Linked DNA regions of Homo sapiens: region 1 is linked to region 2. The links are contacts of gene promoters, found by promoter capture Hi-C in human tissues and cell types (Jung and others, 2019). All regions are on one chromosome and are shown on one strand. The core of a region is centred on a gene start or on the middle of the fragment in contact, and the rest is flanking DNA. Distances in the headings are between cores, read along the strand shown.

What was found. Contacts are between HindIII fragments. The study calls those that stand out against the background at their distance.
Region 1: a fragment that was not itself captured here is called in contact with the fragment with the promoter of NRDE2 in region 2 in 1 of the 25 tissues and cell types used here (lymphoblastoid cells).

What each region holds. Positions count from the first base shown.
Region 1 is chr14:89,286,299-89,290,659 of GRCh38, reverse strand. The region is part of intron 3 of FOXN3 (forkhead box N3); the gene reads left to right. It also overlaps the pseudogene CAP2P1. Among named protein-coding and RNA genes, the nearest start is that of FOXN3-AS3, 62 kb to the left of the region's middle. The HindIII fragment of the contact is 8,255 bases long and covers 1-4,361 here.
Region 2 is chr14:90,330,617-90,335,331 of GRCh38, reverse strand. It overlaps NRDE2 (NRDE-2, necessary for RNA interference, domain containing), which reads left to right and starts at 3,391. Exons shown (of 14, transcript NM_017970.4): 1 at 3,391-3,491. The coding sequence starts at 3,428. RefSeq lists a silencer at 3,158-3,307 and an enhancer at 3,458-3,637. The HindIII fragment of the contact is 6,388 bases long and covers 857-4,715 here.

The DNA of each region.
Region 1 (4,361 bases), core at 145-2,644, 1.0 Mb after region 2:
CAACATGCACCCGTGTTCAAGTTGGAAGGAAGTAAATGGAGAGCAGAGTACCAAGAAGACAGGAATGACCTTGTGATTTCAGAGACTGAGCTGAAACAAGTGGCTTACATTTTCAATTGTGAAAAATCAGCTCTCCCGATGAAAGGGAAAGTAAACTCCATTCCAGTGGAAAACTGTAAGAAGTTTGGTCTGGTCTTTGACAGTTTGGTGGGCATTGGGGAAATGACCAACTCCAAGTACATTCAAATCCAGGTAATGGGGAGAGTACCAGCAATTTCCACTAATAAGACAGAAGGTTGCCACACATACCTAACTCGGGGAAGATGCATTAGACTGTGAGATTGTGAGCATCATATCATCCAAAATGAATATACTTATTCGTCAGGGTGGTAATGACAGAGAATTTCCTGTCCCTGAGCAGTTCAAGACAGCATGGGATGGATCCAAGTTGGTCAGTGAACCCCCTCACCTGAGTCCCTCCATCAAACAAATAAAAAAGTAGCAGTAAAGAACTGGAAGTTGCAGAAGCACCTTCCACTTTAGTTTTGGCCTCCGACAATTCTGTGCTATAGACACAGCATCGTTTCTGGCACGACTTTGTGGGCATTTTGAAGTACTTAACATTTCTTCATGATTTGCCTGTGTGTGTGCGATTTTAGTTCCACGTGGTGACTTGTGAACATTATGGATTTAAAGGGAAAAAAAAGAAGTCTGTTCCCCTCATATCACAAACATAGTAACTGATAGGTAAAAATACTGCATGATTCAATTTTCCACGTATGTTCAATTGCTTGTTGAAAAATAAACTAAGATGTACATTTTTATCTTTTAGACAATTTCAATATGATGTAGTAGTAATGTGCCCTGAGAAATGTACAGTTTTTTTCTTATCGTGAGCACATGTTCACCTTTGGCAGTGTGGATATGCTGTCAGCAGGAGTACGTATTTCCGCCCACGCTTTTAAAAGATGTAAGAACATTTCATATTAAGGACCAAATTCAGGTTCTTTGTCCTTGAAAGACCTATATTCTTTATAGTTACTAAAAACCAAAAGTATAAATTTGAATTATTCATCTTATATGTATTTCTACCGTGTCATTTGAAAACTTACTTTTCTGCATAAGAGATTTTTGTGTCAACAGATTGATGGGAGGAAACAGTGCTTTTGCTATGTAGTACCTCGCAGTGTTGCCCAAAAATCAAGCTCAGTGTCTGTTTTCCAATTTTGAACATGTTAAATGTCAGATGTCTTCTAAATGGTGTCTTTAATGTTTTATTATAGTCTAATTTTTTCTTTTCTGCCTGCCAGACTTGCTAACCAGTCGCAAAAATGAACATGAGAAAAGCCATGGATGTATTACTTCTCCTAAAGCCTAAGGAATTATTTGTTAGTTTGGCTTTCTGCTCTGATTTTGTAGTCTTGCTAATACATGCTTTTTCTTTTCTTTTCTTTTTCTTTTCTTTTTTTTTTTTTTTTGAGACAGAATTTCACTCTGTCACCCAGGCTGGAGTACAGTGGCATGATCTCGTCCCACTGCAACCTCTGCCTCCTGGGTTCAAGCGATTCTTGTGCCTAAGCCTCCTGAGTAGCTAGGGTTATAGGCGCCCACCACCATGCCCAACAAATTTTTGTATTTTTAGTACAGACAGGATTTCGCCATGTTGGTCAGGCTGGTCTCGAACTCCTGGCCTCAAGGGATCCGCCCACTTGCGCCTCCCAACTGGGATTACAGGTGTGAGCCACCACACCCGGCCCCATGTTTTTTTCAATGTTAAGAGAAATTATGATAGTCCTTTGTATCTTTTCAGTACGTAGTGTTGAAAAATCTGCAACTTCTTGGATGACATTTAATGAATTATAGTATAATGCTTACGGACCCAGTGCAAGCATATATATATATATATATATATATATATATATATATATATATATAGAGAGAGAGAGAGAGAGAGAGAGAGAGAGAGAGAGAGAGAGAGAGAGAGAGAGAAAGAGAGTGCCTATTACAGCCTTTGGAGTATGTCGTTTCCATTTTTAAAATATCTTCTATATCTGTGTAGTATTTGGATTATTAATGCTCACATACCAAGGTTTTGCTATAAAAGTTTTGTTCGTATAATGTTGATAGTAAACATCATTTTTCAACTGTAAACTTATTCTGAAATAAAGTAAAATGATAATTGTTTAAAAGTAAAATAAAATAGCTCGATAGATATGGTGCCAGAGCAGCTGCCACCTGTCAGATTCTCATGGGTCCTGGTGGTATTGGGCATACAAGAACTATGTGCAGGCTGATACCTTTGAAATCAGTTGAGTCTCCAGTGTCAACATTTGGCTAAGTTTACAGAGCAATTCCATTTCTTATCTTGATTGGTGCATTGCCCTCTGAGTAATCTTGCCACACACTCAGTTATAGTGTTGGTGGGCCTGGTTGGTTGTGGTCTGATCACTTCAGTCATGCCTCCTCAGCAATTGTCATCCTCTGAAATGGGCCACTCTTGGTAGGTTTCTACCTGGTCTCTTTCTGTCTCTTGATCGCGTGCCCATTTTGGATCTTTGCAGGATTCTGCATGGAGCTATATATATATATATTTTTTTTTGAGACAGGGTCTTGCTCTGTTGCCCAGGCTGGAGTGCAGTGGTGTGATCAAGGCTCACTGCAGCTTTGGAGCTCCTGGGCTCAAGCGATCCACCCACCTCAGCCTCCTGAGTAGCTGAGACCACAGGCACATGCCACCACACTGGGCTGATTTTGTTTATTTTTTGTAGAATAAAAAAATGTTTTATTTTTAACGTTTCCCAGGCTGGTCTCAAACTCCTGGGCTCAAGTGATCTTCCTGCCTAGACCTCCCAAAGTGCTGAGGTTACAGGGGTGAGCCAACAGTTACTTTTTTTTTTTTTTTTTTTTTTTAGCATTCTTTAGAGTAAGTGACATCTGTGAAGTTGCTTCTTGGATATTTAGTAAGTGTTGCTACTTTAGACTGAGAAATATTTGCAATTAGAACATCTCCAAGAATCCTTAAAGAAAAAAGGAAAAGTGCAGTTACCTCATCTGTCACAGGAATGGAAAAACGGGCCAAGTTGGGAGAGTTAAGGATGTCTAGGAGGAAGTGCTGGTGCCCACCTGACAATGGCCACAATGTTGCTGTGTGGCCTTGAGTGTGTCAGTTAACTCTGAACTGGGGTTTGCTTGCAATCAAGACTACCACTGGGGCTGGGCGTGGCTCACACCTGTAATCCCAGCACTCTGGGAGGCCAAGGCAGGAGGATCACTTGAGGTCAGGAGTTCGAGACAAGCCTGGCCAATGGCGAAACTGTGTCTCTACTAAAATTACAAAAAGTAGCCAGGCATGGTGGTGCATGCCTGTAATCACAGCTACTCGGGAGGCTAAGGCAGGAGAATTGCTTGAACCCGGGAGGCAGAGGTTGAAGTGAGCCCAGATCACACCACTGCACTCCAGTCTGAACGACAGAGCAAGACTCTGTCTCAAAAACAAAAACAACTAAAAGAAAAACCACCTTTGGGATTTTTGCAGTCTAGAAAGCAATTTTTTTCCCCCATCATCTCATTTTATTCTCACACATTGCCCCCGGCTTGCAGGCATGGAATTGAGACTTTGACAAGTTAAAAGACTTTCAGTCTGTGTTTTAAACAAAATTTCTGAGTCCAAATCCCACGGTCTCTCCACTTCACCCTGGATTGGACCCTGTGGCCACAGAGATCCCTTTTAATTGCCGGGACACTCAAGCTTCTTTGGAAGGTTAGAAAAGTGTCAAGAGTGTCCCCGAGAATCTGAACTTTCATCTGTGTTCTTAGTGATGCTTCTCAAACGGTGAGTGGTATTTTGTGAAGCTTCCCACACACGTCTCTGTCCAGCCTGCTCTGGTTGCCGTGTTCCAAATGCCAGCGAGTGACATCCTTCACTCAGAGAGCCCCTGTTACATTGTGGCGTAGGTCACATTTGGTTTTCTATTATTTCCTGGTGATTAATCCCCAGTTATAAGGCAAAACAATGGAATTTCAAGGATTTTTTGTGGTGGGTGATTCTCCCTTTGTTACAACTGCGTTGACTGTTTTATTCCTGGGGAAATTGCAGTCTGGTGGTAGATGTCACCCATCCGAAGGGATTGCCATCACAGTCCATCTCCAGCGCTAAGAGTATGATAGGACTCTGTGCTCGGTTGCTTAAGAGTAGTGGGTAAGCTCTGGCCTCCATGAGTGCTAAATCAGGGTGGGCTGGTCTTGCTACACCCACTTTTTCCCCCCACCCCATCCCCGTTGGTTTGGGCTTTCTGCTTTGTCGTGTGCTGTGGACCATTCTGGCAGAAAGCTGACCATGGGGGACATTCAGATATTCTTCC
Region 2 (4,715 bases), core at 2,142-4,641:
TGAGTTGTTTTTATTCTTTCTGCGATTGTTTTTCAATGCAGAGAAGACTACTCAAAAGTTTACTTTTAGTTGACTCTAATAATAAAAAGTTTGCATAGGTCTAGAAAATTACGGCAATAGGTCAGGTTAGCCCACTGCCAATTGGTATGACCTATGCATTAAGAATGATTTTTACGTATATAAATGTTGAAAAAATAGGCAAATAACATTTTATGACATGTGAAAATTGTATAAAATTCAAATTTCAGTGTGGTTGCGACCACATGTCTTTTTTTTTTTTAGGTGGAGTCATGCTCTGTTGCCCAGGCTGGAGTGCAGTGGCACGATCTTGGCTCACTGTAACCTCTGCCTCCCAAGTTCAAGCAATTCTCCTGCCTCAGCCTCCTGAGTAGCTGGGAGTACAGGTGCCTGCCACCACTCCCGGCTAATTTTCGTATTTTTAGTAGAGACGGGGGTTTCACTATGTTGGCTAGGCTGGTCTCAAACTCCTGACCTCAAGTGATCCACCCGCCTCAGCCTCCTAAAGTGCTGGGATTACAGGTGTGAGCCACTGCATCCAGCCAATACCATATGTTTTATGTGACTCTTTCCAGAAAAAAATTTGCAGACACAGTGTTTAAAAGATTGGCATCCAATGTATTAAAAACAAATTGAAAACCCTTGTTTGTTCTTAAGCTTTTAAGAACTTGGTCAGTTACACACCTGTGATACCCCCACCATAAACAAGAGTCAGAATATTTCCATCAAGCCCAAAACATTCTCCACACCCCTCTGTGGAATATCCCTCTCTTCGTTCCCAGAGCAAGGGAAACACCGATCCACTCTCTGTCACTATATATTAATTTGTATTTTCTAGGATTTTGTATAAAGAGAATAACACAGTAAACACTCTTTGTGCCTGGCTTTTTATACCCAGCATACCAATTTTGAGATTCATTCATGTTGTATGTATCAGTAGTTTGTTCCTATTGTTATTATTATTGTTGAACAGCCATTATTTATACTCATTCTAAGGCTTCTAACTTCTTGTCCAAAAGCTTTTTTCAACTAGGGAGGGTGAGCTTTGCTCATGGTGTCTATTTCGTGAGCTCAGAGCTGCCTCGAAATGGAATCTTCAGCCTCCCTCATGCTCCTGCAATAGGACCCCATTATTCTTATAAAGCTAACCAATTACACTTACAAATATGGCGAGCTTTAGATTCTCTTGGATATCCTGAAACTGCTTAAACCTCATTAAGATTTCAATTTACTGCCGGCCATGGTGGCTCACACCTATAATCCCAGCACTTCGGGGTGCTGAGGCAGATGGTCGAGACTGGAGTGAGCCATGATCGCACCACTGCACTCCAGCCTGGGCGAGAGAGGAGATCTTGTCTCAAAAACAAAACAAACACAAAAAGATTTTAACTTAAAACCAGGAGTCTGTATCAGTTACTTGATTATACACTTTCAGTTGTTCTTATGAGGAGGGTCTCTTGAGCAACATTCTCTTATACATTTGTAAGTACACAATATACCTAGTATACCCAGATTCCTTTGTATTACAGAAACATTATTATTATGGTTTTAATTTCTTAAAACTTCCATATTAATTCTTACTTTTCTGGGGTGGAAAGATAGGAGGCATTGGGATAGACTATTTCCATCCCAGTTACCTGAAGTGATCTGCTAAGAAAGACAAATGCTGCCCCAATTAATTGAGGTAACTTAGAGTCAAAGATTTTGGCAGAACCTGAGATTTAAAGTTGAAGACATACAGGAATTACTGCCCCTATTGTCATACTAAGCTCCTTTTTGTAAGTACTCTGCCAGGGACTTCAAAGCATTAAGGGTGTCTATTTTGGACTCATAGAACCTAATTCTTATGCAGGTCTGCAGACTTCATCAGAGTCCATCCATTCCTTGATTAGATGATTACATTTGCATCTCTGGTTTATAATGTATTTCCTAACTAAAGATCTTTAACTCCCTAGGATCCCAATAAATATATCTTCATTTACCTATCTATTTTCACTTGCAAATATTTCAGTATATATCTCTAATATATAAGAACTTTAAAAAGTAATCTCAGGCTGGGTTGGGGGGTGCTCAGGCACAGGCACCCAGCACTTTGGGAGGCAGAGGGGGGCAGATCGCTTGAGCCCAGGAGTTCGAGACCAGCCTGGGCAACATGGTGAAACCCTGTCTCTATTAAAAAAAAAAAAATTAAGCCAGACATGGTGGTGTATGCCTGTGGTTCCAGCCACTTGGGAGGCTGAGGTGAGGGGATTGCTTGAATCGAGGAGTTCGAAGCTGCAGTGAGCAGAGATCGTACCACTACACTCCAGCCTGGGTGGCAGAAGGAGACCTTGTCTCAAAATAAATAAATAAGGGTCACCTCAGTGACATAAGTACTTTAGTACATCTAACAGAATTCACAAGAATTACTTGTGAATTGCTTGTACTCTGCCTACCTTCTTATTTCTCCATCTATCTTAAAAAGGTCTTTTTACAGTTTGTCCAATCAGAATTATAATGAGGCCACAAATATGTTGTATTTGCTTGATGTGTCTGTAAGATCTTCGTATCTATTACAATCTCCTGCCCTCTTAAAGCCCTTGATATGTTAAGGAAGCACGGTTGTTTTCTATAATTTCCCATATTCTAGATTTGGCTAATTGTTTCTTGGTAGTACAAAGTCTTCTAAGTTGTTCCTTTACTCTCTATATTTCTGGTAGCAAGTGTGATTAGATTTTGGGTGGGAGGAACCGGGGTCAAGAATGCTTCACAGACAGGTATTTCCTAACTATCAAAGACCCTTGAACTTGATGGGACTTTCCATTTTTCCTTGTTCTGGGGTATTTAATATGGTAACCTGATTGAAGTTCGGATATCTCACATGACTTTGAGCCGAACTTGCAGTCGTAATTCACATAATAGCTAACACATATTAAGTGCTTTTCATGGGCCGGACTCAATGCTAGGCCCTTTATAAATATGTTCATTTAATCTTCTCAATATTTTGCAGATAAGGAAAGTAATGCTTAGAGCGTTTAAGTTGACCCAGTTAGCAAGGATGGTGTGAATTTAGGGGTCGAACTGGAATCCCAATTTCCTTAGTCCCTTTCGCGGTCAACAATTCCCTTCTCCGGTTTTCGCAGTTCCGGTTCTCACAGGGTCCCAACCACTAGGAACCCGTCACTCCTCGCTCCGCCCCCCTTGGCCCCGCCCCACCCTGCTTTGCCCTGCCTCTCCCTGCCCCGCCGCGCCCCAGTCCCTTGACGACCCTCCTCTCTGGGCCCCGCCCCTCCCGCTTCGGGGTCAAGCCCCAGAGAGCGCCGCGAAAACCACATTTCCCAGAGTGCACCGCGACGGCAGGGGTCCTCAGACCGGCGCTCGCTCGCCGGCGCCATCCCTATAGAGAAGAACGGAGGTACGGCCTGTGGTCATGGCGCTGTTCCCAGCCTTTGCGGGGCTTAGTGAGGCTCCCGATGGCGGGAGCTCCAGGAAAGGTAAGCACACAAACGAGCCGAAGAAGGCACCTGGGGGGCTTAAGAGGCTGTTTCTCGGGCCCAGGTCTAGACTTTTGCTTTGGATTTGTGTATCCATTTGTATCCCAGAGTTCTCCGCGGCGCTGCAAAGCCTTCTGGGAAAGGCTCAATCCCTCCGAGGTCTGGGGCCCAGAGGCCTGTTCTGGACCAAGGTTGTAGAGTTATGGAGGGGTGGAGAAAGACCAGCAGATGCCCTGGAGCTGGGACTTCTGTACGATGTTGTTAGGTCCTGTTCTTCTTTTCGAGCCTCAGTTACTTCATCTTTAAATTGGGAATAATGATACTCGACATCTCGAGGAAACCCTTGATGCAAATGCAGAATGTTTTTATTACATATTACTTCCTTTCCTGTTATACTTATTTCTGAAATGCTTATTAGATTGGTATTACTTAGCGGCCTAGAGCTAGGGGATTAGTATCCAAAACCTAATCAGTTTCTCTCTGGAGGGGCACAGCACCCAGTGAAAATAACTAACATTTATTCTTGAGGGCCTAGTGTGTATCAGGTTATGGCTTTACACATTTTACTTAAGTCCCAGACATTTCCAGCAGAGCTGCATTGTTCAAAATTGGGGTACATAGTTCATTTAAGAAGTAATTAATCCTGGCCAGGAGCAGTGGCCCACACCTGTAGGTGGAAGGATAGTTTGAGCCCGGGAGTTCATGACCATCATGATCAACATAGCGAGACTCCTGTCTCTTAAAAAAAAAGCCAGGCGTGGTGGTGCACACCTATAGTATCAGCTCCTCAGGAGGCTGAGGTAGGAGGATTGCTTGAGCCCAGAAGTTTGAGGCCGCAGTGAGCCATGATCGTGCCGCTGCATCCTGCCCTGGGGTGGGGGGACCTTGTCTCTAAAAAAAAAAGAAAAAAAAGTAATTCTAAATTATGTGCCATATGTGACAGGGCGCAATTGAGTCTTACCTGTCTGTTATATCCTCTAATATAGTTCCTACACTTTCTGTAACGTTTCTCCTAATTTTTTTTTTTTTTTTTGAGACAGGGTCTCACTCTGTTGCCCAGGCTGGAGTACAGTGGCACTGTCATAACTCACTGCCGCCTCAGACTCCTGGGCTTAACTTCCTGCCTCAGCCTCATGAATAGCTGGAACTACTGGTGTGCACCACCAGGCCTGGCTAATTTTTTTTAATATTTAGTAGAGACGAGGTCTCACTGTGTTGACCAGG